4 separate regions of the Homo sapiens genome follow, and regions 2, 3 and 4 are each linked to region 1. Evidence: promoter capture Hi-C in human tissues and cell types (Jung and others, 2019). All regions are on one chromosome and are shown on one strand. Each heading gives the region's core, a stretch centred on a gene start or on the middle of the fragment in contact. The rest is flanking DNA. Distances are from core to core; before and after follow the strand shown. Region 1 holds the start of CPA4 (carboxypeptidase A4). Region 2 overlaps KLHDC10 (kelch domain containing 10). Region 3 has its middle 15 kb from the start of CEP41. Region 4 overlaps CEP41 (centrosomal protein 41).

Region 1 (7,012 bases), core at 4,513-7,012:
CTCCCGGGTTCAAGCAGTTCTCCTGCCTCAGCCCCCTGAGTAGCCGGGATTACAGGTGCATGCCATCATGCCTGGCTAATTTTTGTATTTTTAGTAGAGATGGGGTTTCACCATGTTGGCCGGGCTGGTCTTGAACTCCTAACCTCAGGTGATTCACCCACCTTGGCCTCCCTAAGTGCTGAGATTATAGGAATGAGCCACCACACCTGGCCCAGAAGTTAGTTATTCTTTGAATTCTTTCTCAGAGAGGCATAGGGGGGCAAAACAAAAACCAAAAAACAAAACAAAACAAAAAAACCCACATAGCTTGGGTACAGAGCCCTGGGTTTGAGTTATAGCACTGCCACTTTGGAACCAAGTAGCCATGGTCCAGTCACTTATTCTCCCTTGGTTTCTTATATCTGTGGAATAGGTTGTTGAGAGGCTCAAAAGCTATTATGTGGAATACAAGTGTTCCCTAATTCTACAGCACTATGTAAACGTTGATTGTTAGTTTCCTGGTGAATGCTCTCCCACAGATAACTCCAGTCCTTAACGTGGCCTAACTTTTTTTTATTGGATCCTGGTCATTTATTGACAATGATAGTTACAAACATAACTGACATTTATTGAATGCTTATTCTACATACATTATCCTAGCTCCTTCACTTAATATCCCTGTTTTTATTTTATTATTTTATTTAGTTTTTTAGAGACAGGGTCTCACTCTGCTGCCCAGGCTGGAATACAGTGACAGGATCATGGCTCACTGTAGCCTGGACCTCCTGTGCTCCAGCAGCCCTCCCGCCTCAGCCTCCTGAGTAGCTGGGACCACAGGCATGTGCCACCACATCTAGTTCATTTTTTAAAAAATTTTTTTGTAGCGACAGGGTCTCGCTATGTTGCCCAGGCTGGTCTCAAACTCCTGGGCTCAAGTGATCCTCCTGCCTTGGTCCCCAAAGTGTTGGCAGAGATCCACGATGCCTTGCCACTTAATCTCTTAATCTCAGTTTCCTCATCTGTAAAATGGGAATAATGCTAGTACCTACCTAGAGATTCACAACCAGTTTAACATAGTGCCTAGCACATTGACACAGCCAATAGTGTCATCACAACCATTATGCCATTTAATTCTCACTCCCCTGTGAAACAAGTAGTAATATCATCCCTATGTGACAGGTGAAGCATCTGGAAATAGATGACTTGCTTTAGGTCACTCAGATAATGATTTGTAGGGTTGGGATTCTATCTGAGACCAGTATTCTGTCTACAGTTGACCTCTTAGTGTGATTGGCTGTGTCATGTAGACACACCAAAAGGTATGAGTTGGTAATTTTGGTCCAGGGAAGATTCAGTTCAAATCAGCAACCATTTAGTATTTATTATTTACCAGGCATTAATTTCCAAGCTGCTCTGCTGGGTGAAGGCAAAGACAAAAATCATGGGCGTTGACAATATTAATTCACAATATTAACCTCTAGCCCTACTCTTTTCTGGTACAACCTCCCTGGTCTTTCCAGCCCCATTCTTAGGGACTAGGTAGCTTCCGACATCTGTGCCTCAGCCGAGTCCTCCTGTGACCTCTAACTGCCCTTCCTGGGAGGGGCCACAGGGCCGGTCCATTGCTCGGCTTTTCTGAGTCATGACTGACTTGTAAGTTAATGCCATCTTCCTTCTTCATCTGTCACATCAGCGGCCACACAGATCTCAGGTGCACATTACTGTGTTGGCTGAACCCACCACACAGAGGTGCTGTACCTGCAATTTGATAGCAGAGCAGAGAGTGCTCCACCCTTAATGCTCAAAGTCCCCTGAGGGTAGGGACCAAATCTCTTACTGCATTTGTAATCCCTCCACTCCCACTAGAGAAAACCATGTCTGTGCCTTCTAAAGAAGGAAGTGGTGTGGCCTACCTAAGGTGGAGAAGAGGCCACTTAGGATGGCGTGGGCTCCTAAGAGCACTGAAGGAAGGCTCAGTTCAGTGTCCGCTGAATAACACCTTTTGCTTTTCAAATTATTGTGTTTTTTCATAAATGTGACCCTCTACTAAACTCTCCCCCCTCTTACAGTTCACACCTAGGGGCCTGGCTTACCTATGATAGTAGAATTTAATATAGAGGTTCCATTGCGTGAAGGCTAGTGGTAGTCGTGTAACCAAACTTTATTCTCGTTTGCACTTCAGACCAAGCCAGTGGAGGAAGCATTGACTGGTCCTATGATTATGGCATCAAGTACTCATTTGCCTTTGAACTGAGAGACACAGGGCGCTACGGCTTCCTCTTGCCAGCCCGTCAGATCCTGCCCACAGCCGAGGAGACCTGGCTTGGCTTGAAGGCAATCATGGAGCATGTGCGAGACCACCCCTATTAGGGCCCTGGGGAAGAAACAAGAGCCATTAAAATCTCTTTGGTTTGAAGCAAAGTTGGGTTGTGTTGTTTATTTTTCTAAGCCTGATCTGGCAGCACCGTTTCTCCAGTTTCTGCTGCCCTCAAACACAACAAGTCATGGCATTGTACCCCTTCATCTTTTAGAAAATCCATCCTGGGGCCAGGCGTGGTGGCTCACCTGAAATCCCAGCACTTTGGGAGGCTGAGGTGGGACGACTGCTTGAGCCCAGGAGTTTGAGATCAGCCTGGGCAACATGGGGAGACCCCATCTCTAAAAAGAATAATATTAAAAAAAAAAATCCATCCGGAGCAGAGTGCTCCCAACATCATTTGACAGTTTTTGTTTTTGTTTTCCTTTTGAGACAGAGTCTCACTCTGTCACCCAGGCTGGAGTGCAATGGCGCGATCTCGGCTCACTGCAACTTCTGCCTCCCAGGTTCAAGCAATTCTCCTGCCTCAGCCTCTCAAGTAGCTGGGATTACAGGCACCTGCCACCATGCCTGGCTAATTTTTGTAGTTTTAGTAGAGACAGGGTTTCACCATTTTGGCCAGGCTGGTCTTGAACTCCTGACCTGAAGTGATCCACTCGCCTCGGCCTCCCAAAGTGCTGGGATTACAGGCGTGAGCCACCGTGCCTGGCCCCATTTGACAGTTTTTTATTGTGTTAAATTATACACAAAACTTACAATTTTGACCATTTTTAAGTGTACAATTCATTGGCATTAAGTACATTCACAACGTTATGCCACCATCACCATCATCCATCTCCAGAACTTTCCTATCATCCCAGACTGAAACTCTTCCCCATTAAACCATAACTCCCCATTCCTCTTGCCCTTCAGCCCCTGGCAACTACTAGCTACTTTCTGTCTCTACGAATTAGCCTATTCTAGGTATTTCGTATAAGCGGAATTAAACAGTATTTGCCCTTTTGTGGCTAGCATTTTTTTTTTTTTTTTTGGTTAATATAATGTTTTCAAGGTTCATCCATGGTGTAGCATGTGTCACTGCTTCATCGTAAGAGTGTAGCATTTTAGGGCTAGCAATGGACTTTCAAGTTCATGTATTCAATAAATACTCATGAAGCAACTGCACTGTGCCAGGCCTCGTGCCAGGTGCTATACCTGGTTCCATTGTTGCCTTTGGTTTTTCCTTTCCTGGTGTGCTGCTTTATGAAGACTTGTGGGGCAGGGCATGGTGACTCAGGCCCGTGATCTCAGCACTTTGGAAGGCTGAGGTGGGAGGATCAGGAGTTTGAGATCAGCCTGAGCAACACAGTGAGACCCCGTCTGTACAAAAACAAAACAAAGCACCCGTCATGGTGGCAAACATCTTTAGTCTCAGCTGCTTGGGAGGCTAAGTTGGGAGGATCACTCGAGCCCAAGAGTTTGAGACTTCAGTGAGCTATGGTCGCACCACTGTACTCCAGCCTGGTCGACAGAGTGAAACTCTGTCTCAAAAAAAACAAACACACAAATGGTGGGGACCCAAGCCAATGACATTCCTTTTTCCTGGTTGCCCTATCAAGCCTCGGTCTCAGGTTGCACACAGTTTCTCTTTAGATATTGACTCCCATTAGGGATTTAGGTTTTCTTCATGTGGATGATTTTCCCTGGGAGAAAAGGTAGGAACTAAATTTCAGCTTGCCTAGAATGCTTGGTCCTTGATTCTCCCACTTCACATCTCTTACAGATTTGGGTCTCAGTTGTTCTTGTTGCTGACTTCAAAGCTGACATCGATCTCAGTGACGCTGAGCCCACGCTTTGTGGTGGACAGGGTGGGTGTAGGAATTCAGTTGAAGTGTTGAGAGGACAAAAGGACCCTGAGGGAGCAAGAGGAGATGATGGCCCCTAGCTCCACAGCTCCTAACAAAGGCTCTCTCTGGGACCACACTTGAGATTCTGCACCCTCCTTTTGATTAGGCTGGTTCTTGAGCCCTGGCTAAGCCAGCCTGAGCAAAGATCCTGCGAAGTCATCCCTCCCACCTTGATATCTGATCAAGTTCCTCATCCCCACCTTTGATGGGGACTTTGATGTATAAGTCCTTGGCCTGCTTTTAGCAAGAATCCCCCTACCTTGATGTCTTCTCTTAGTAATCCCACTGATCCTCTCTGTTTTCTTTGCCGTATTCAGTGTTAAGCACAGTAAGTCTTTCCTACTGAAATAGCCATGGTCCTAATCATAATAATCTTGAATTAGGTCTTACATTTTAACACAGGTCAGGATAGTTTTTCTTTAACTCTCTCAACTATGACCCTTGGTTGTGTCCACTCCCTTTGAGTGGGTGTGGAAAGCATGTAGACCGTAGGGAGGGTGGGATGGGAAAGGCTGTGGGAACTGGGGCTCCCAGGACAGACTCAAAGGTCCCAGAGCCCCTGAAGGCGTTATGGAGATATGAGTGTCTTCCATTTATTCAGCTGTGACTTGGCGGAAAGGACACCAGACCCACAGTCTAGGAAGTATAAGAAAATCTTATTATTTATTTATTTATTTATTTGAGATGGAGTCTCACTCTGTCGCCCAGGCTGGAGTGCAGTGGTGCGATCTCGGCTCACTGCAAGCTCCGCCTCCCAGGTTCACGCCATTCTCCTGAGTAGCTGGGACTACAGGCGTCCGCCACCACGCCCGGCTAATTTTTTGTATTTTTAGTAGAGACGAGGTTTCACTGTGATAGCCAGGATGGTCTCAATCTCCTGACCTCGTGATCCGCCCACCTCGGCCTCCCAAAGTGCTAGGATTACAGGCATGAGCCACCTCGCCCGGCTGAAAATCTTATTATTGATAAAACCATTAAGCCTTCCCCATAGATCAGACCCCAAGGAACACTGATAATTTATTCAGACTAAAACATCCTTTCTATATCATTTGCCTGATACATTTCTATTTCCTTAGTGGAGTCAGAAGAATTAGGCTTCAGATACATAAAAGAGGCCCCAAACCTCTTTCCTCATCCTGACCTGCCCTGGTGAAATTCTCTGGCAGGGCTTGTCAAGCATGTGGTCTTGGAGCCAGCTCAGTCTTGCTTTGATAGTCTTAACTTTTTTATTATTATTCTAGAGGTAATTCTATGCCAGGTTTATAATCTGACCTCTCCTATCAGGATAAATTCCATCCAACACTGTGGAATTAGCTTATTCACTGAAAAAACACTATTTAAATGCCAAGTGATGAGCAATATGGTACCCTTGGCACAGACTTTTTCAGCTCCTGGAGCAAGTTCCTGACCTTGTAAATTGAGATGCTCAACCTTTATCACTTGAAAGGAATGGGAGAGGCATTGGTAGGGCCTGCCTGTCACAGTCAGAGTTGCAAGGGTGCTTGGGAATCACATTAGCATTTTTGAGGACTTGAGTCACTCTCAGACTCTTTATAAATACAGCTTGACTCAGCCACTGTATGACTGACTCCCCGGGGACATGAGGTGGATACTGTTCATTGGGGCCCTTATTGGGTCCAGCATCTGTGGCCAAGAAAAATTTTTTGGGTAAGTTCCTTTTGGACTTATTATTTGGTTATTTCAGAAATATGGGAGCCAAATGGAACTGAAAATGAATGGCTGATAATAGCTCACATGGAGGAAGAAGACCTGGGCTCTTGTTCCAGCTTTGCCCCTGTGTCATCCTGGACAAGTCCACTCTCTTCTCTGAGACCCCATTTCATCTGTGAAATCAGGACTAGATGATCATTGCAGTCTCTCCCCAGCTCCCTCATCTCCTGCCAGTTCTTTTTCTGCCTAGTTCTTACTTATAAGGTCAGTTCCAGGCATCTACTTTCTTACTCCTACCTTATTAATTACTAAGAGTTACTGGTTACTAAGAGCTACGTTATTAATTACTAAGAGTTACTGGTTACCAGAAATGGTTTGTTTCCAATTTCCGCCATGCATAAAGGGAAACCCTGGGTCTCAAGCTTGTTGGTTTCACTTCTTTGTTAATGGCGAAGGCTTTGCAGAGCTGGTGCCTTCTCTTGATCTGCAGTTTAATGCTCTACCCCTGAGCTACACCCTCTTCTGAGCTGGTGCTTTCTTACTGGCTTCTGGGACGTGGAGATTTCACAGGTCTTGCCTAGACACAGCTATGAAAATGACATGCAGAGACACATGCCTGAACACCGTGTGTGTGTGCGCGTGTGTGTGTGCACACACACACGTGCTCAACACGCTCCATGCAGAATACTTTGAGGTTTGCAGGGGAGAGGACATTTGGGTGGTAGGAGAGATAAAAGGGATACCATGGTGCCCTGTTAGAAGACTGAATTATAATAACTCATTACTGCATAATACTTTACCATTTGCAAAGAGCTTTCATGTACATTATCTTTTTGATCACACAACAACTTTGCCAGGCAGGGGTGTTATTTTCTTCCACTTAAACATGAAAAAAATCAGCCTTAGAATGTTAAGGAACGCGCTCAAGGCCACTTAGCTGGGAAGCAGGGGAGCTGGAACTCTGAACGTAAAACTCGTACCCTTTTGCTATAACACAAGTTCATCTCCAAATAAAATCCTATATCTCTTGGATCTGTCTCTTAGTTTTCTTTCTATTTTACTATCTGGCTAATGAGACTTTGGGGTTGTTTTTTGAGGTAATTACTTATATGAGATTGACTAAGTTTTATGATGATGACTTCTGTTCACACCTGTGTCT
Region 2 (7,012 bases), core at 3,187-5,686, 180 kb before region 1:
TCCCAGCGCTTTGGGAGGCCGAGGTGGGCGGTTCACGTGGGGTCAAGAATTCAAGACCAGCCTGGCCAACATGACGAAACCCAGTCTTTACTAAAAATACAAAAATTAGCCGGGCGTCGTGGTGCACGCCTGTAATCCCAGCTACTCGGGAGGCTGAGGCGGGAGAATTGCTCGAACCCAGGAGGCAGAGGTTGCAGTGAGCCAAGATCGCGTCACTGCACTCTAGCCTGGGCGACAGAGTGGGACTCCGTCTCAAAAAAAAAAAAAAAAAAAAAAAAGAGCCGGACGCGGTGGCCCGTACCGTAGTCCCAGCTACTCTGGAGGCTGAGGGTGGAGAATGGCTGGAACCCGGGAGGCGGAGGTTGCAGTGAGGTGAGACCGCGCCACTGCACCCCAGCCTGGGGGACAGAGCAAGACTCCGTCTCCAAACAAAACAAAACAAAAAACCCTTCCCCGGGAAAAAAAAAACAAAAAACAAAACAAAAAAAAACTAGCTGGTTGAGGTCGTGTGCGCCTGGAGTCCCAGCTACTCCAGACGCTGAGGTGGGAGAATCGCCTGAACCCGGAGGCGGAAGTTGCAGTGAGCCGAAATCGCGCCACTGTACACCAGCCTGGGCGACAGAGCGAGACTTGTCTCAAAAAAAAAGAAAAAAGAAACTATACTCATGGACATCAAAAAAGACAAGAATAAATGGCTAGGGATTATGTTCCTTAATGGGTTATCCCAGATAAAATCCTCAAGGGACTTTTTAAAAATAGAATTTTAATTGCCATAGAACTTCCGGTTTAATTGCAAAAATTGCAAAAATGGTAGAAATTCTCCTGTATCCTGGCCGGGCACGGTGGCTCACGCCTGTAATCCCAGCACTGTGGGAGGCCGAGGCAGGTGGATCGCTTAAACTCAGGAGTTAGCCGCCTCAAGACCAGCCTGGGCAACGAGACGAAACGCCGTCTCTACCAAATATCCAAAAAAAAAAAAAAAAAGCTGGGCGTGGTGGTGCGCGCCTGTGGTCCCAGCACTCATCAGGATGCTGAGGTGGAAGGATCGCTTGAGCTCGGGAGGTGGAGGTTGCAATGAGCCAAGATTGAGTCATTGCACTCCAGCCTGGGCGACAGAGCGAGACCCCATCTCAAACAAAAAAAAAAAAAAAGAAAGAAAAGGGAAAAAAATGTCTCCTGTATCCTTTACCCAGATTCCCCAAATGTTATTTTGTCTTTTACTTTATCCTGCTCCCTCTCCTCTCTCCCTTCCCCCCTTTATACACAATACGCACATACATATTTTTCTGTTTCAACCATTTGAAAATTGCAGACATGATGTCTTGCTCTCTCTCTCTTTTTTTGAGACAGGCTGTCACCCTGTCGCCCAGGCTGGAGTGCAACAGCGCCATCTCAGCTCACTGCAGCCTCCGCCTCCGGGGTCTAAGTGATTCTTCCGCCTCAGCCTCCTGAGTAGCTGGGACTGCAGGTGTGCGCCACCACACCCTGTATTTTTTTAGTAGGGTCAGGGTTTCACCGTGTTGACCAGGCTGGTCTCGAACTCCTAATCTCAAGTGATCCACCCGCCTTGGCCTCCCACAGTGCTGGGATTACAGATGTGAGCCACTGAGCCCAGCAGGTCTCTTTTTTTTTTTTTTAATTTTTTAAAATTTAATTTTTTTTAGAGATGAAGTTTTGTTCTGTCACCCAGGCTGAAGTGCAGGGGTGCAATCATAGCTTACTGCACTCAAGCGATCCTCCAGCCCACCTCAGCCACCCACGTAGCTGGGACTACAGGAATGTGCCACCATGCCTGGCTAATTTTTTTTGGCAGGGTCGGTACAGATAGGGTTTCACTATTTTGCCATATCTCTTTATGTCTGTGTACCAAAGTGTTTGCTCCTGAAAAACAGACATTCTCTTCCATAACTGCAGAACCTGTATCAAAATTAGGCATCAACACTGATTATTAACCCTATAAATAATGGGTACAATTAATACTACTATATAAGTTACAGACCTTGTTTCAGATTTTGCCATTATTATTTTGCCACTATCCTAATAATGTTCTTTTTGTTTGTTTGTTTTGAGACGGAGTCTCACTCTGTTGCCCAGGCTGGAGTGCAGTGGTGCAATCTCAGCTCATTGCAACTTCCACCTCTCAGTTTCAAGCGATTCTCATGCCTCAGCCTCCCGAGTAGCTGGGATCACAGGTGCCCACCACCACGCGTGGCTAATTTTTGTATTTTTAGTAGAGATAGGGTTTCACCATGTTAGTCAGGCTGGTCTCAAACTCCTGACCTCAGGCAATCTGCCCGCCTCAGCCTCCCATAGTGCTGGGATTACAGGCATGACCCACCGTGCTGGGCCAATAATGTTCTTTAATAGCAGTAGAAAATCTGAGATTGTGTGTTACATTCTGTTGTCATGTATCTTTAGCCTCCTTCAGTGTTGAACAGTTTCTCAGCGTTTGTCTTTTTGACATTGATATTTTTGAACAGTTGCAGGCTAGGTATATTGTAAAACGTCCCTTTGTTTGGGTTTCTCCCCATTTTCTCATAGTTACATTCAGCTTATATATTTTTGGCAGGACTACCACTGAAATAATATTGTGATCATCTCATTGCACATGATGTTGATTGATTTGTCCCATTACTGGTGATGTTAATTTTGATCACCTGGATAAGATGCTGTCTGTCCATGGGACTTTTTATAGACTTAACAAACTCATTCTAAAATTCATTGCAAAAGTAAATGGAGAAAAATAACTAGAAGTTTTTGGGAAAAAGTAATACAAAAGGGAATTTGTTCTAAATATTGAAAGATAGTTCAAAGCTATAATAATTAAAACAATGTGGTAATGAGGGCCAGGCATGGTGACTAACACCTGTAATCCCAGCACTTTGGGAGGCCCTGTGGTAGGAGATGCTTATATAACCAACAAGTAATATTGTGGGCTGGTGTGAATGGATTGCTTTGGTCTGAGCAACTTGGGCTCTGGGAGTAGTAAAAAGTTGTACCTGCCTTTTGGGGGATATGGGAGAGCTAACTGGATCAAACTTCCTTGGCTTTCCTTGAGGCTTCTAGGTCCAACAGAAGACCTGTCTTTTGTGGTAGAGGTAATTGTGGCCTTTACATTTGGAAAGAAGTAACCAGTTAAATTGATTAATCATTTAGGCTGTTCGATATTTATAACTAATGAATACTTTTAATAATAAGTTTTTTTTTAAAATGGCCTCACCACAAATGTTCATTAGCACATCTGTAGGTGGCTACATCTTGTAAGTAATAGACTTACTAAGCAGTAAATGTTATGTACTACTTTATTTACAAGCTTTTGTATTTAAGCTTCTGTGATGTTCTTTTATATATTTACATATTGTTTATATATATTTACATTCATATATTCTTAAAGAGCAATAAATTTTGTGTCCAAGGGGATTAGACCTGAATATTGGGATTTTCCTAATTCTACTCTAGAACATGTCGATTTAGTATATGGTAAAGGTGGCATTTCAAATAAGTATAGGAGGGGTGGCTTTCTTTAAGTGGTTTGGGGACAGTAGCCTGTTTATTTTGGGAGGAAAAATTAGAGCCCTACCTTATACAACACACAAAAATATAAATTCTGATGTATTCGAATTCTGAATATAAAAAATCAAAACATGAAATTATTCGAAACAAATGACAATATCTTAATCATTTTATAATAATGCAGAGGTGAATGAAATATAGAACAAGGGAGCTGTAAAAGACAAGATTGAGAGACTCAACACCTCTGTATGTTAATAGATGCCGTAAACAAAAGACAAGGAGCAGGCTGGAAGAAATACATATAAAATAAAGAATTTGGGGCCAGGCAAGGTGGCTTATGCCTGTGATCCCAGCACTTTGGATGGCTGGGGCAGGAGGATCATTTGAGCTTAGATTAGAAGTTCAAGACCAGCCTGGGCAACATAATGATGCCTCATCTCTACAAAAAAAATAAAAGAAGTAGCTAGGTGTGGTGGCTCATGCCTATAGTCCCAACTACTTTAGATGCTGAGGTGAGAGGATCACTTGAGGAAGAGAGGTTGAAGCTGCAGTGCGCTGTGATTATGCTACCACAGGTAGGTCTCACTCAGCCTGAGCGACAGAGTAAGACCCTGTCTCAAAGGAAAAAGAAAAAAAAATTACACAATGGTGAGAAGACAACCTAATAGATCTAAAAAGTAGGCAAAGGAGATGATCCGGCAGTTCCAAAAAGAAGAAATACAAATGGGCCAATAAACATGTGAACTAGTAAAATAAGGGAAATGCAGATTAACCTGACACCAATTTATACCCATCAGATTGGCACAAATTTGAGAAGGCTAAAGAAAGCATGAAGAAGTAGGCACTGGCATAACATTGCTGGGAGTAGAAATGGGTCCATTCTATTTGGAAAGCAGTATGGCCCTATAACAGTATTGTATCTATTAAAAATTTTTTGTTTTGTATTTTTTATTTTTTCTATAAAAATTTTAAATGCATATTCCTTTGACCTAGAAATTCTACCTCCAGAAATTCTCATACATTTGTATACAAATATATGTAGAGGAAGCTTTGTTACAATATTATTTGTAGTAGTGAAAACATTGGAAACAACTTAACCTTCTGTCACATTATCTCAGACAGCTAGCTTCTTTCTGCCTTTGGGCTAGAAACTGAAACCCATTTCCCTGGTTACCGTAAGTTCCTGCTTGCTCCCTGGGTAAAGAGCAAGTCCTTGTGACATGGAAGAGAGGATGGGTCCCACATCACAGGGACATAATCCTTTAGCTTCATGTTCCCTTCTGGATATTAAGTGTTTACCTGTGAATACAGGTTCTGTTTTAATTTTTTGCTTTTACATTTCCCACTGGGAGTTCCTGAATCAGGTAAACGAATTCTATGGTAGATTTTATTAGCAGCAAGTAATTTTTAGGAAAATGGGATTTGCAGATGGAGAAGTTGGGGGAGGATTTAGAGAGCTACTTTAGACCCTGAAACACAATTTCAGTTTTGTCAAGGTTGAGGACCCTATGCTATATTTCACCTAATAAAAATTAATGCTTAGTCTCCGTGGCATTAATCCAGACAGACAATTCCCATGGTTTATCCAAAATGGAATGGCTTTTTAATATGTTAGTCACTCTTGGGTTATAAATATGAGAAAGAAATCTGTAGTTACTGGCGAGAGAGAAAGAGGAGTTGCATTTTTACTCTCAGCTATGAGATTCCTTGACAGGATGTTTAATATTTATCAAATATTGATTAGATGCTCTTTACCCAAAAGTGTGATTTGCAGAGATCGTGAAATTATTAACAGAAACCAACAGTTGGGCTGGATCAGCACTGTGTCAGAAATAGGTAAACCACAAAATTAAAATTTTTCCAGTACCCACATTTAAAAAAGTAAAACAGACAGGTAACATTAATTTTATTTAATATTTTTATTTAACCCAGTATATTAAAAATATCATTTCAACATACAATCAATATGAAAACTAATAATTTCACATTCATTTTTGGGTACTAAGTCTTTGAAATCCAGTGAGTATTTTACATGTAAAGCACAGTTCAGTTTGGACCACCCACATTTCAAGTGCTCAGGAGCCATATGTTATGGCTCATGGCTACTGACTTGGGCTGTGCAGGCTGGACTGTAAGCTCCCAAGGACAGAGGTAGTCATTGCCTTATCACTGTATCCCCAGCACCTAGCACAGTACATGGTACTTAGTACATAGCCAGCATCCAATAGTAACTTTTTTTTTTTTTTTGAGACGGAGTTTTGCTCTTGTCACCCAGGCTGGAGTGCAGTGGCACGATCTTGACTCACTGCAACCTCCACCTCCCAGGTTCAAGCAATTCTCCTGCCTCAGCCTTCCGAGTAGCTGGGATTACACCTGCCTGCCACCACACCTGGCTAGTTTTCGTATTTTTAGTAGAGACGGGGTTTCACCATGTTGACCAGGCTGGTCTCAAAATCCTGACCTCAGGTCATCCACCCGCCTTGGCTTCCCAAAGTGCTTGGATTACAGGTGTGAGCCACCATGCCTGGCCCAATATTTTTGACCTGAGTGAGTGAGTAGAGAAATATGAAACCGTCTTTTCACAGACCCCTCAACTGTGTAATCCATGTGAATTGTATTTGTCACAGAGATAGTTGGCAATAAACTTATAACATTACTTTCCCTGCTGTACAGCCATTTAGAGAAAATGTAGAATAGACTGCATTTCTTTTCATATTTGCCCAAAAGCAGCTTTAAAAATTATCTGTTGGCTTCAGGTAATACAGCAAATGACAGAGATTTTTAGAGTTCCTGTCTGCTGAACATAGCAACTCTGTTAGATTTCTTCTTTAAATTTGTCTTGCTAATTCTTAGAAAGAAGCATTTGTGCCTTGAGAAGAACATTGCATAATCCAACACCCGTGCCTTAAACCATGTATCTGTTAGGCATAATAATACCAAAGTCCACTGAGAGTTAGACACTGTTTTAATCTTCCCTGTCGCTGTTTACTTTGGCCTGACGTTAAAGTCAACCAAACTTTTAGTACCTGTTTTTAGGTACTAACTGTTTTAGGTGTTGTGGGTGATACAGGATAATTATTATACATGACCTTTGCCCTTGAGGAGCTTATAAACTGTTTGGAAAAGAAAAACAAACTGACAAAATGCATAGAAAAAATTAAATGCCAAATAAATTGATTCCCGTTTCATTTAGTGTTTGCTGTGTGCCCGAGGCTTGGTTATAGAAAGGTAAATACAAATGTATTCCTTTTCCCTCAAATAGCTCACAGCCTCCTAGAAAGTTACCTGTATAAGCCAATAAACATTTCAACATGACAAATCTAACAAATCTTTGAAGTGCAGTAATAATATCCCAATATGCAAATGAGGAAGCTGAGACTAAATGAAGGTCAGTGACTTGCTCAAAGTAGCAATTAGAAAGAACCTGGATTCAAACTTAGACATTTATAGGAGCTCTTATTTTTTCTTCCACACCACACTTTCTGTTTCAAGAGTCCTA
Region 3 (7,012 bases), core at 1,276-3,775, 160 kb after region 1:
ATCCACACACGATGGATGTGAATAAATGTCTGCAAATATCATCCTAAGAAACAGGATGCAACAGTGCCTGGAAACCTAATCAAAGCATGACGGAATGTGAAGGAAAGCTGTAACCTAATCAATGGCCTTAACAGCTGAAGAAAGAATATGTGAGCAGAAGGGGGGTGGTCTATAGGGAGTGCTGAAAAGTGGAGCCAAGGAACAAACATTTGTCATGATGTCTCTAGCCCTGTCAAGGGAAAGAGTTGTTTTTTGACCATTAGGCACAAGTATGCAGTCCACCCTATATCCCTATGGATGCCACAGAGCTCATCCAATTCCCTCCCTTTGTTCTGATTTCATGCTCACAAACAGCCTCCTGATTATAATTTGGCTTCCCATGTAGATTTTCCAACAGGAGAGAATGCGCTGACCAGTCAACATGAACATCTGGTCCATTTGGCAAGGAGCGTTCTCTTTGTATACGAATGCATTGGTGTTCTGGTTTCTATATCAGTCAGTTTATATACCCCAGGGTCTGCAGAGGTGCTCCTTCTTCCAGCTCTTGCTAGGACTGCCAGCAAGGTCCTGCTCCCCTTTGTTTGCACCCTTACCCAGCCAGTGTGGGCTGAGGACAAAGTATGAGGAGTCAGCCACAGCTCCTCCAGGTATAAACCCATCTTGCTTTGGGCTTACCTCTTCCTCATAGAGGTAAAGGGCTTTGGACCCACAGTCAGTGTTGATGGGCAGGACCTTCCCGCAGGGTTTTTCCTCTTCTTCAGAAGCCTGGTCTCTGCTCATGATACAGTGTTTTGTTTTTAAGATTCAGGGGGTACATGTGCAGGTTTGTTATATTGATATATTTCATGATGCTGAGACTTGAGCTTCTATGGAAATTGTCATCCAAATGGTGAACATAGTACCCAATAGGTAGTTTTTCAACCCTTGCCCCCTCCTTCCCTCCTTCCTTTTAGAGTGCTGTGTCTGTTGTTTCCATCTTTATGTCTGTGTGTACCCAATGTTTAGCTCTCACTTATAAGTGGGGACATGTGGTATTTGATTTTCTGTTTCTGTGTTAATTCACTTAGGATAATGGCCCCCAGCTGCATCCATGTTGCTGCAAAGGACGTGATTTCTTTTTTTTTTTAATGGCTGTGTAGTATTCCAGGGTGTATATGTACCACATTTTCTTTATCATGATACAGTTCTATCTTCCTGTGCTGTGGTTCCCTGCCAATACATTCATGCACCTTAGCAATAATTTTCAAAGGTCAGGGATTAGGAAAAAACACTTCCAGAGAACACAGCTGATATCGAGATGACTCTGGCTGTGGTTCACCCTGTCAAGGACTCAGGCATAAGTGGAATGGAGGAAGGAGAAGGAGATGGCCAGCCTCTACCCTGTTGAGTTAGTCCTGTTGGGATGGATGCTTGGATAATTTCTGTTGGTCCTAAGGCCTCCACCAACGTTTTGGTAGTGCTGTGGCTATTCTGGGGTGCTTTATCTTGATGGGCTGCTTTGAGTTCTGGAAAAATTTAGGAGCTAAGTTAATGGAATTACTGAGAGGAAATGCCAAATGGATTGTTGTTGGGCTGGAGAGAGGCCTTGTATACATTTTCAGGTTGAAAGGAAGATCTGTAGAAAGTAGAGAGAAGGAAGATGGGGTTGGTGAACCCTATTCTAAGAAAAGAAAAAAAACCTAAAAATTCGTAGTTAACTGGAGGAAATTAAGCATTTATTCTTCCTTTCTAGCAGGAACTGATTTCAGGGTAAGCAAATAGTCCCCAGTTGGTGAGGAAAAGCTCTGTCAGAAGAATGTCATCAAATAAATGCAGAAGGAATTATAAAATAAGAAAAGCAAAATTTTGGAAGCCCAAATAAAATTACTGATTCAGGCAAAAAGCTTCAATTGTTGTTAAAAAAAAATGCTGGGGAGCTAGATACTTGTATAGTACCAAACAAACACATCCCAGACAGCTTCTCAGTGGCAAGGAGGAAAAAACATACAATGAAGGGGTCAGGTTGTCAGCATCCTCATATCTGGGGGTGGTCAATCTTAGTTTTACTAATGGGTAGTGTATTAGTCTATTCATGCTGCTGATAAAGACATATCCAAGACTGGGCAATTTACAGAAGAAAGAGGTTTGATGGACTTACAGTTCCATGTGTCTGGGGAAGCCTCACAATCATGGCAGAGGGCAAGGAGGAACAAATCACATCTTACATGAATGGCAACAGGCAAAGAGACAGAGAGTTTGTACAGGGGAACTTACCTTATAAAGCCATCAGATCTCTTGAGATTTACTCACCTTCACTAGAACAGCACAGGAAAGATCCACCCCGATGACTCAATTACCTCCCACTGGGTCCCTCCCACAACATGTGGGAATTGTGGGAGTTACAATTCAAGATGAGATTTGGGTGGGACACAGCCAAACCGTATCAGATAGTCAGCTAGATATTATGTGTCCCCTGATGTAACTTGATGCAGCATACAATATAATTTATGGTATGTTCTAGCAAAATGTATTGAACTGAAACATAGAGTTCAGATATAACTTTTATGGGAAAACAAGAGATGGAGGAACAAGCTGAATGGCGTCATGAAGAAGCAATCAGAAAAATCAGAAGGACATTCTGCAAGATAACTGACCTGGCCTCTTCAGCAGGCCAAACTCATGGAAAAGGTACTGTGCTAGCTTCAAAGAGATTAAAGGGACATCAAAACAAGATGCAATACATGGTCCTAGATTGGCCATCCATTAGGGCAAACTAACTGTAAAGAAAAATTTTTAAGCAAATGGAAAAATTTGAATATGATTGAGGGTTAGTTGAAATGGAAACTTACAGAAATGGAAAGGCAACTGAAGTTTCCAGAGAGTATATTTAGTAATATGTCATTTGGTTAAAACATTACATATAAACACAAAGAAAGAGGCAAAAAGATATTAATGTGGGGCTTAGCAATTGTATATTCCCTTTTTTATTGAGATACAATTTACATACTGTAAACTCACCCATACATACCATATATTTACATACCATATTTTACAAGGTTGTGGCACCATCTCCACTATATAATTCCAAATTATTTTTATCACCCCAAAAAGAAGCCACATATACATTAGTACCCCATCTCCCCTTTCTCCACCCCAGGAAGCAATAATTTACTTTGTCTCTATGGATTTGCCTATTATGGACAGTGCATGTACGTGGAATCATATAACATGTGGCCTTTTGTAGCTGGCTTCTTTCATTTAATATAATGTTTTTAAAGTTCATCCATGTTATGGTATGTATGATTACCTCATTCCTTTTTGTGGATGAATAATATCCCATTGTATGGATATATTAAATTTTGTTGATCCATTTATTAGTTGATGAACACTGGGTTGGTTTGACCTTTTTTTTTTTTCTTTTCAGATGGAATTTTGCTCTTGTTGCCCAGACTGTAGTGCAATGGCGCAGTCTCGGCTCACTGCAACCTCTGCCTCCTGGATTCAAGTGATTCTCCTGCCTCAGCCTCCCAAGTAGCTGGGATTACAGGCATGCGCCAGCCACCATGCCCAGCTAATTTTCTATTTTTAGTAGAGACAGGGTTTCACCATGTTGGTCAGGCTGGTCTTGAACTCCTGACTTCAAGTGATCCACCCGTCTCTGCCTCCCAAAGTGCTGGGATTATAGGCGTGAGCCACTGCGACCAGGGGTTTGACTTTTTGACTATTTTGAATAATGCTGCTATGATCATCCATTTACAGGTTTTTGTGTGAACATATGTTTTCAATTCTCTTGGGTATATGCCTAAGAGTGGAATTTTGCCACATGGTAACTTTATGTTTAACTTTCTGAGGAAAAGCCAAACTGCAAGGCTGGGCACGATGGCTCATGCCTATAATCCCAGCACTTTTGGGAGGCTGAGACAGGAGGATTGCTTGAGCCCAGGAGTTCCAGACAACCCTGGGTAACATGGCAAGACTCTATATCTACAAAAGATATAAAAGATTAGCCAGGTGTGGTGGCGCATGCCTGTGGTCCCAGCTACCCAGGAGGTTGAGGTGGGAGAATCACTTGAACCCAGGAGACTGAGGCTGCAGTGAGCCGTGATTGTGCCACCACACTCTGGCCTGGGTGACAGAGCGAGACCCTGTCTCTAAAAAAAAAAAAAAGAAAGAAAAGCCAAACTGTTTTCCAAAGCAGCTGCAACAGTTTACATTTCCACCAGCAATGTATGAGGGTTCCAATTTCTCCTATCCTCTCCGACACTTGCTATTGTCCATTTAAAAAATAATAACCTTCCTGGCCAGGTGCAGTGGCTCATGCCTGTGATCCCAGCACTTTGGGAGGCAGAGGCGGCTGGATCACCTGAGGTCAGGAGTTCAAGGCCAGCCTGGCCAACATGGCGAAACCCCGTCTCTACTAAAAATACAAAAAAGTTAGCCACGTACAGTGGTGCATACCTGTAATCCCAGGTACTTGGGAGGCTGAGGCAGGAGAATCACTTGAACTCAGGAGGCGGAGGTTGCGGTAAGCTGAGATCAAACCATTGCACTCTAGCCTGGGTGACAGAGTGAGACTCCATCTCAAAAAATAATAATAATAATAAAAACCTTCCTACTGTGTATGAAGTGGTATCTTATTGTGGTTTTGGTTTTCGTTACCTGATGGCTAATGATGTTGAGCATCTTTTCATATGCTTATTGGTCATTTTTATATCTTCTTTGAAAAAAATTTTTAGTTTGTTTTATTTTGTTTTGGGGTAGGGTCCTGCTCTGTTACCCAGGTTGGAGTGCAGTGGCATGACCATGGCTCAATGCAGCCTCCACTTCTCACGCTCAAGCAATTCTCTCACCTCAGCCTCCCAAGTACTTAGGACTACGGGCACATGGCACTACACCCAGCTAATTTAAAAATTTTTGTAGAGATGAAGTCCTGCTATGTTGCCCAGGCTTGTCTCAAACACCTGGACTCAAGTAATCTTCCCTTCTCAGCCTTCCAAAGTGTTGGGGTTACAAGCATAAGCCACTGAGCCCAGCCTGGAAGAAATATTTATTCAAGTCCTTTGCCAACATTAAAATTAATTCATTCTTGTTTTCTAATTGTTAAGCTAAAATAATTCTTTTATATTTTCTGGACACTAGACTCTTATCAGACATGTGATTTGCAAATATTTTCTCCCATTTTGTGGGTCGTTTTCTCACTTTATGGGTCATGTCCTTTGAAGCACAAGAGTATTTAATTTTGATGAAGTCCAATTTATCTATATTTGCTTGGTTTCTTTTGTTTCTTGTGTCATATCTAAGAAACAATGCTTAACCTACATTTATGAAGATTTACCCCTATATTTTATTCTAAGAGTTTTACAGTTTTAGCTCCTACAGTTAGGTCTTTGATCCACTTTGAGTTAATTTTTGTATTTAGTATGAGGTAGGAGCCCAACTTCTTTCTTTTGTATGGGGGTAACTGCTTGCCCCAGAAACATTTGTTGAAAGGACTGTTTTCTCCCTAGTGAATTGTCTTGGCACCCTTGTCAAAAATCAGTTGACCATAAATGTATGGGCTTATTTCTGAACTCTCAAGTCTATTCCATTTATCTATATGTCTACCCTTCTGGCAGAATCATACAGTCTTGAATATAGTAGTCCTCCCTTATTTGAGGTTTCACTTTCCATTCGTGGTTTTAGTTACCCACAGTCAACCGTGGTCTAAAATATTAAGAAATTTTGAGAGAGTGAGAGCACACATTCACATAACTTTTATTACAGTTTATTGTTATAATTGTTCTATTTTATTGCCTATTTTTGTTAATTGCTTATTTTGCCTAATTCACAAATTAAACTTTATCATGGGTCTGTATGCATAGAAAAAAACATAGTGTGTGTGTGTGTGTGTGTGTGTGTGTGTGTGTGTGTGTGTATAGAGAGAGAGAGAGAGAGAGCTATATATATTGTTCAGTATCCACTGGGGGGCTGGGAACGTACTCCCCATGGTTAAAGGGGGACTACTGTATTGTAGCTTTAGTAAGTTTTGAAATTGGAAAGTGGAAGTGTGAGTCTTTCAACTTTATTATTTTCCAAGGTTGCTGGGCTCTTCTGTGTCCCTACCATTTCCATTTGATTTTTAGAATCAGCTTGTCAATTTCTGCAGAAAAAAAAAAAAGGCATTTGGGATTTTGATAAGGATTGCATTGATTCTGTAGATCAATCTGCAGAGTATTGCCATCTTAACCATTATAAATCTTCCAACCTATGAACTATATATCTTCCCATTTATTTAGGTCTTCTTTCACTTATTTCAACAATGTTCTATAGTTTTCACTGTACAAGTCTTGAATTTCTTTTGTGTCAGTAGAAGTAAGCTCTTATGGTCTTTCACAGCCCTGGGCACAAATATGCCCTATGTATGCATGTAGACTTGTAGAGTTTAAGGAATATGCAGATTTTTTAAAAGTTCCTGTGGACATTCCATTCCCAGAATTTTCTGTTAAGCTTTTTGCTTGTCTATTATTTGCTCCAACTGTTATTCATGAACTCAAGCAGCCATGAAGTTAAACAATTACCTTTAATTGTTTTTGACAAACATACTAGGGAAAAGGTTTTTTTACACTGATGAACTTTAATCACATAAAGCCAGCCTTGCAAGTAGGGTTCCCGGGAAACACCAGATAGGTAAAATAATGACAATTTCTTTTGAATGAGGCTTTGAAGGAGCTCCAGCTCCTTCAAAGTGGTGGGAGGTTGCGGGACTCTGCCCTCTCTGGTGGCTGCCGGGCTGCTGCTTTTTACTGCAATTGTGGGCTCTTTGTTTTCAAGGCTTCTGTGGATCTAGAAAGAGGAGCATGGGAATAGGGAAAGTTAAATTATCACAAAACTCATTGTTTTTACTGAGATTCAGCTGTTTTTCTTTTTTTTTAAGAGATGGGGTCTTGTTCTATCACCAGTCTGGAGTATAGTGATGCAATTATAGTTCACTGCAGCCTTGAACTCCTGGACCCAAGCCATCCTCCCACCTCAGCCTCCCACGTAGCTGGAACTA
Region 4 (7,012 bases), core at 3,342-5,841, 140 kb after region 1:
GACAGCAGGGTCAATTTTGGATCTATTTAAGATAAAGATATAAGATAGGTAGGTGGTCAGAATGAAGTTCATCTGGAAGAGGCAGGAAGTTGAGAAAGTTCCTGTTTGTGGTATCATTACAGGCTCTTTGAAAACAACCAAAAATGTCAAAGACCCTTTGAGGGTTTACATAAAAGAAAATGTCCTCCCTGTCTACCCACCACAGCCCAGCTATTTCAATTCTACGTGACTTCCAAGACTCAGGGCAAACTTATCTTCTGGGAAGATTCCTCTGAAGGCCTTAGTCAAATGGAAATCTCTTCCTTGACTGAATATTCACAGTTCTTTGTACCATTCACACGTCTTACTCCTGCACTTGGGACAGGGGCTCTATCTTGTAGATCTCTGTACCTACTACAAGACCCTCTACTAATGAGAGAGCAACAAGTACCTGCCAAATGAAGACCTGAGCAACATGTAGTGTGCATGCTGGTGCCACGTGGGCAGCACGGACATGGAGGGCTCTAGGGAGGAATGTCAAAGGAGATTGTTCATCCACTGGGGGTGATAAGAAAGACTTCATGGAAGAATGGACACTGGAGCTATGTTTTAAGGGTTGATCTTCTGTGGATAAAAAAGATGGGAAGAAGGAATGGAAAAAGTATTCCAAGTGGAGAAATTTTTAATAGCAAAGCCACTTTAAAAGCAAGTTTAAAGAACAAATTGTTCTATTTGCCGGAGATGATTTAACAACAATAAGAAACATGGTAATGCTGCTAACATTTATTGAGTACTTACTATATCATCAGGCACTAAGCATTTTACCTACATTATCTCATTCCCCACAACCACTGTAACCAATATTACATATGCTATGTGAATTACATCTCAAAAAAGCTCTTACAGAAAAAAAATGTAAAAAGTAAATATATTTTTTTTAAAATTGCTTTTTGCTCTACAAAAGACCCTGTGAAGAAGATGAAAAGATAAGCTACAGACTGGGAGGAAATATTTGCAAAGCACATATCTGACAAAGGACTACTATCTCAAATATATAAAGAGCTCTCAAAACTCAAAAGTAAAACTATTCATTGCATCAGTGTTTGTAACTGCAGGTAGTCAAAAACAACCTAAATGACCATGGGGAAACTGATAGGTAAAATGTGCTCTAGTCACATGCTAGATTACTATACAATAGGTAAAGTAATAAACTGGACATATTTATCAACATAGATGGATCTGAAGCATAATTTGCATGATAAAAGCAAATCGTATACAAATAGCATAACACTATTTTTGTAAAATTTTTAAGCTCACAAAATAATGTCTGTTTTATATGAAAAATATGGCTGCTGAATTAGAAAGATATACATTAAATATATGGGAGCAGATGTCTATAGTCAAAGGAGAAGAGTGGGAATAAAAGCAATAAGAACCAAAATTGGCTATAACTGAAGTATACAGATAATCAAATCATATCAGTCCATTTGTACAACTGAGGTCTTACAGAACTAGCAAAACAAAAAAACAAATAAACAAAACTGTGATACAACCACACCAAATACTTAGGTAAGAGTTAAAAGGAAGTCATTACACTGAGGTATATTTTTCTGACATGGAAAGATCTCCAGGATATATTGTTAAGTGAAAAAAATCAAGTCAAAGAACTATATATACAATGTTGTAACATTTATGTAAAACAAAACTACAAAATAAAACTCTTATATTTCTCTCCATCCCCCAATCACACACATGTTCAAATGTACAGAGAAGGTTTGGAAAAGATAACTATGAAAACATAGTACATAGTGATATAAGAAAATGTCCTGAATTATTCATTAAAAGTATAGAATTAAAAATAAAGGAAACAGAAACTCCAGGAAAAAACAAAAAGCAGTAAGAAAGGAAATGTAATCCTACATTTCCTTGTTTTGCAATAATATTTACAGTCATCACCAACAACACAAAAGGAAACAAAAACTCAACAGTTAAGAAAAATAGAAAATAGGCAAAAGACACAAAGAGATATTTTACTGAAGAGGATATATGGATGACAGATAAGCACATGAAAAGATGTGCTTGGTATCCATTAAGGAAATGCAACTTAAAACCACAATGAGATGGCACTACACATCTATTATAAACATTAAAATAAAAAATATTGACAGTGTTGAACGTTGCCAAGAGTATGCAAAAACTGAATCTCTCATACACCCTTGGCAGGAATGTAAAATGGTACAGCCTCTCTGGAAAAGTTTGGCAGTATCTAATAAAACTAAACATATGTTTACCATACAACCCAGCAATTGTACTCCTGGGCGTTTATCCCAGATAAATGAAAATTAACATCCACACAAAGAGTTATACCCAAATGTCATCTTTATTTGTAATAGCCCAAAACTGATGACAACCAAAATGTCCTATACTAGTTGAATGGTTAAAAAACTGCTGTACAGGCCAGGCACAGTAGCTCACGCTTGTAATCCCAGCACTTTGGGAGGCCGAGGCTGGTGGATCATTAGGTCAGGAGTTCAAGACCAGCCTGGCCAAGATGGTGAAATGTTGTCTCTACTAAAAATACAAAAAATTGGCCGGGCACAGTGGTAGGAAGCTGTAATCCCAGCTACTCAGGAGGCTGAGGCAGGAGAATCACTTGAACCCAGGCAGCAGAGGTTGCAGTGAGCTGAGATGGTGCCGCTGCACTCCAGCCTGGGTGATAGAGTGAGACTCCGTCTCAAAAAACAAAACAAAACAAAACAAAAAAACTGCTGTACATTCATACCACAGAATACTGATCAGGTACCAGAAAGAATGAACTACTGCTACATGCAACAACTTGTATGCGACTCAAGGACATTATCTTGAGTGAAAAAAAAAAAAGCCAATCTCAAAAGGTCACATACTGTATGATTCCATTTATGTAAAATTGTCAAAATGACAAAATTATGGAGATGGTTACCCAGGGTTAGGATGATGAGAGGGAAGAAAGTAGGTGTGACCAGAAGAGTAGCTTGGAGATATTTCTAGTGATGCAATAGTTCTTTATCTTGATTGCAAATCTACATATATGTAAATCTTGATTAAATCTATACAAGTGATAAAATGGCCTAGAACTATACATACATTGTGCAAATTTCTATTTTCTAGTTTGATACTGTACTGTACTCATGTAAAATATAATCATTGGGGAAAATGGGTGAAGGATACATAGGACTTCTTTGTACTATTTTTTTTTTTTTTGCAACTTCCTGTGAATCTATACTTATTTTGAAATAAAACGTTTTTTAAAAGTACAACAGAGCAAAAAACAGAGCTCTTAAAAATTAAAAACATGGGCTGGGCACAGTGGCTCACACCTGTAATCCCATCACTTTGGAAGGCCAAGGCAGCAGGTGGATGGCTTGAAGTCAGGAGTTCAAGACCAGCCTGACCAACATGGTAAAACCCCGTCTCTACTAAAAATACAAAAAAATTAGCTGGGCGTGGTGGCAGGTGCCTGTAATCCCAGCTACTTGGGAAGCTGAGGCAGGAGAATCGCTTGAACCTGGGAGGCGGAGGTTGTAGTGAGCCGAAATCGCACCACTGCACTCCAGCCTGGGCAACAGAGTGAGAGTTTATCTCAAAACAAACAAACAAACAAATTAAAAACATGATGGCAGAAATTAAAAACTAAAATGAAGGATTGGAAGATAAAAATTAAATCTCCCAAAGGGAGCAGAAAGACAAAGATGAGGGAAACAGGAGATGAAAGTTACGAAAATCAGAGAACCAGTCATATAGGTTATCTATATGAATACAGAACATCAGAATAATGAATTCAAGAAAAAGAGGATGGAGAAAATAGGAGAGAGAAAGTTAAGAAAATTTTCAGACTAAAAAGACATAAATTTCTGGTGCCTATCAAAATGAGTGAAAATATAAATATCTTTGTAAAGTCACACTGGGGACAAAAAAAAAAGGTTCCACAAGCTTCCTGAGAGGAAAATTCAGTCACAAAGCAAGAGAATGGCTTTGGACTTCACAACAACACAAGACACTAGACCACTAAGCAATGTTTTGCAAGATGCTGATGATGGCCAGGTGTGGTGGCTCACACCTGTAATCCTAGCACTTTGGGAGCCCAAGGCAGGATTGCTTGAGCCCAGGAGTTCAAGACCCTCTTGGGCAACATAGGGAGACCCCATCTCTATAAAAAATACAAAAAAATGAGCTGGGCACGATGACACACACCTGTGGTCCCAGCTACTCAGGAAGTGGGAGAATCATTTGAGCCCAGGAGGTCAAGGATATAGTGAGCCATGTTTGTACCACTGCACTCCAGCCTGGGTGACAAAGCAAGACTGTCTCAAAAAAAAAAAAAAAAAAAAAAAAGAAAAAGAAAAAAAAAGATGTTGATGATTTTCAACCAATAATTCTATACTCAGCCAAACTCACTGGCAAATAAATGTTAAGGTAGAATAAGAATATTTTTAGACATGCCTAACATTTTAGACATAAATTTTTAAAACTATTTCTTATGAATTCTTTCTTAAGAAACTACTAGAAGTTGTGCTCTATTCAAACAAGAGAGTAAACTGGGCATCTTTGTCTCGGGCACAAACATAACCACACGGAACATACTTGCTCCTCTTCCCCCACACTCCTAAAACTATTCCTCCTTTTCGTTCTCCCATATTCTTGATCTCACTCATGGCGCCAGCACCAATGAGTAGTCTAAGCTGAGACTTAAGTCACCCATCACGCATCTCTCAAAGCTAATCAGGAAGTATTGATGATTTTGCCCCCGTAAATATTTATCCTCGATTCCATCCCTAGTTCAATGGCCTTAGTTTAGATCTCTATCAAAATAGTAACTATTGGCAGGGCGCGGTGGCTCATGCCTGTAATACCAGCACTTTGGGAGGCCAAGGCAGGCGGGTGGCTTTGAGCTCAAAAGTTTGAGACCAGACTGGGCAACATGGTAAAACCGCATCTTTACAAAATCCACAAAAACCAGCCAGGCTTTGTTGGTGTGCGCCATAGTCTCAGCTACCCAGGAAGCTGAGGCTGGATAATTGCTTGAGCCCGGGAGGTGGAGGTTGCAGTGAGCTGAAATCTCCCCACTGCACTCCAGCCTGGGTGACAGAGTGAGACTCTGTCTCAAAAATAAATAAATAAATAAAAAATAGTAACCACTTAACCAATCTCATTTCCAGTCCTGGAGCCTCCTCAAACCCATCTTCCACAATGTAGCTACAGCCATCTGCCTAAAATGCAAATCTGACCATGTCACTCCTTTAATAACTCAAAAAATTTCTCAAATCCTGACCAGCAGACAAGATAAATATGTGGCAAACTGCCATTCTCCTCACCTATCTCTCCCACCCCCATGATACACAATATTAACATTTTTATTAATATTTTGATAGACAAATCATAACTTTATACATTTATGGGGTACAATTTGATGTTTTGGTATATACACACACACACAATGTGGAATGATTAAATCAAATTAACATATCCATCAACCCACTTATCTTTTTTTTGAGGTGAGATATTTGAAATTTACTCTCATAAAATATACAATTTACTCTATTTTGAAATCTACAATATAGTTGAACTTTGGACAACATGGGCTTGAACTGTGCAGATCCACTTATACCCAGATTTTCTTCTGCCTCTGTCACCCCTAAGGCAGCAAGACCAACCCCTCCTTTTCCTTGCCCCTTAGCAATGAAGACAATTAGGATGAAGATGTTTATGATGATACACTGCCACTTAATGAATAGTAAATATATTTTCTCTTCCTTATGATTTTCTTAATAATAATCTTTCCTCCAGCTTACTTTAAGAATTCAGTACATAATACATATGAGATACAAAATATGTTAATCAAGTGTTTCTGTTATCAGGAAGCCTTCCAGTCAATAGTAGGCTATTAGTAGTTAAGTTTTTTTGCAGGGGGGAGGGGAGTAAAAAGTTGTACATGGATTTTCTACTGGGGGTTATGAGTCTGCTGTAATTATTATTAACTATAGTCACCATGCTGTGCCAGAGATCTCAAAAACCATTCCTCCTGTTTAACTGTAACTTTGTGCCCTTGGATCAACATCTTCCCATTTCTGCCCTCCTTCCCCCCACCCTCCAGGCTCTGGTAACCACCATTTTATTCTCTACTTCTATGAGCTGGACTTTTTAAGATGCCACGTATAAGTGAGATCATGCAGCATTTAGACATTACCAATTGACCATGGCTCTCTTGCAGGGCTTAGACTCAGCCTTACAGCTTTCTCAGCCTAGTACCAGGCAGCCACCAAGAGATGAAACAGTTACAACTCCTATTTGGGATAAAGGCTAAGAACCTCAGCAAGGCAGAGAAAGCCTGGACTCCTACAGGGGCCTGTTCTGAGTTCACACACTCCTTACCTTCACTTGGGCTGTTCTACCCGGGATGATGCTTCACCTGGCTAATGAATGGCCTTGCCACCCCTTCCATCTCCACAACCCTTCTCTCACTCCCTCAGTTGAGTACTACCTATTTTCTCGTAACATCTTGCTCCCCGACCACACTGTACTCAAATTCTGTTCACAGGCTCCTTCACTAGACGCAATTTATTTATTGTTTATTTTTATTTTTTTGAGACAGAGTCGCTCTTATCACCCAGGCTGGAGTGCAATGGCACGATCTCGGCTCACTGGAACCTCCATCTCCTGGGTTCAAGCGATTCTCCTGCCTCAGCCTACCGAGTAGCTGGGATTACAGGCGCCTCACCACCACGCCCGGCTAATTTTTGTATTTTTAGTAGAGACGGGGTTTCGCCATGTTGGCCAGGCTGGTCTCAAACTTCTGACTTCGTGATCCGCCCGCCTCGGCCTCCCAAAGTGCTGGGATTACAGGCTGAGCCACCGCGCCTGGTCCACTATACGCAATTTATTAAAGGGCAGAGGCCTTGTCTTCTTTGTACGTCTAGCACCTACTGCACCGTGGAAGTTTCCAATAACGTTTGTTGAAACTGCCACAAATGCAGCAGGGGACTAGCGGTGAAACAGA

The links. Contacts are between HindIII fragments. The study calls those that stand out against the background at their distance.
Region 2: a contact is called between a fragment that was not itself captured here and the fragment with the promoter of CPA4 in region 1, in 2 of the 25 tissues and cell types used here (lymphoblastoid cells and mesenchymal stem cells).
Region 3: a fragment that was not itself captured here is called in contact with the fragment with the promoter of CPA4 in region 1 in 1 of the 25 tissues and cell types used here (mesenchymal stem cells).
Region 4: a contact is called between a fragment that was not itself captured here and the fragment with the promoter of CPA4 in region 1, in 2 of the 25 tissues and cell types used here (IMR-90 fibroblasts and aorta).

What each region holds. Positions count from the first base shown.
Region 1 is chr7:130,287,399-130,294,410 of GRCh38, forward strand. It overlaps CPA4 (carboxypeptidase A4), which reads left to right and starts at 5,763. Exons shown (of 11, transcript NM_016352.4): 1 at 5,763-5,850. The coding sequence starts at 5,783. CPA2 (carboxypeptidase A2) reads left to right here. Exons shown (of 11, transcript NM_001869.3): 11 at 2,162-2,400. The coding sequence ends at 2,349. RefSeq lists an enhancer at 6,168-6,257. The HindIII fragment of the contact is 11,774 bases long and covers 1-7,012 here.
Region 2 is chr7:130,107,590-130,114,601 of GRCh38, forward strand. All of the region lies in intron 2 of KLHDC10 (kelch domain containing 10), which reads left to right. Among named protein-coding and RNA genes, the nearest start is that of LINC03008, 31 kb to the right of the region's middle. The HindIII fragment of the contact is 6,751 bases long and covers 1,062-7,012 here.
Region 3 is chr7:130,452,819-130,459,830 of GRCh38, forward strand. No RefSeq gene overlaps it. Among named protein-coding and RNA genes, the nearest start is that of CEP41, 15 kb to the left of the region's middle. The HindIII fragment of the contact is 3,297 bases long and covers 878-4,174 here.
Region 4 is chr7:130,433,439-130,440,450 of GRCh38, forward strand. The region is part of intron 1 of CEP41 (centrosomal protein 41); the gene reads right to left. Among named protein-coding and RNA genes, the nearest start is that of CEP41, 4.1 kb to the right of the region's middle. The HindIII fragment of the contact is 7,843 bases long and covers 671-7,012 here.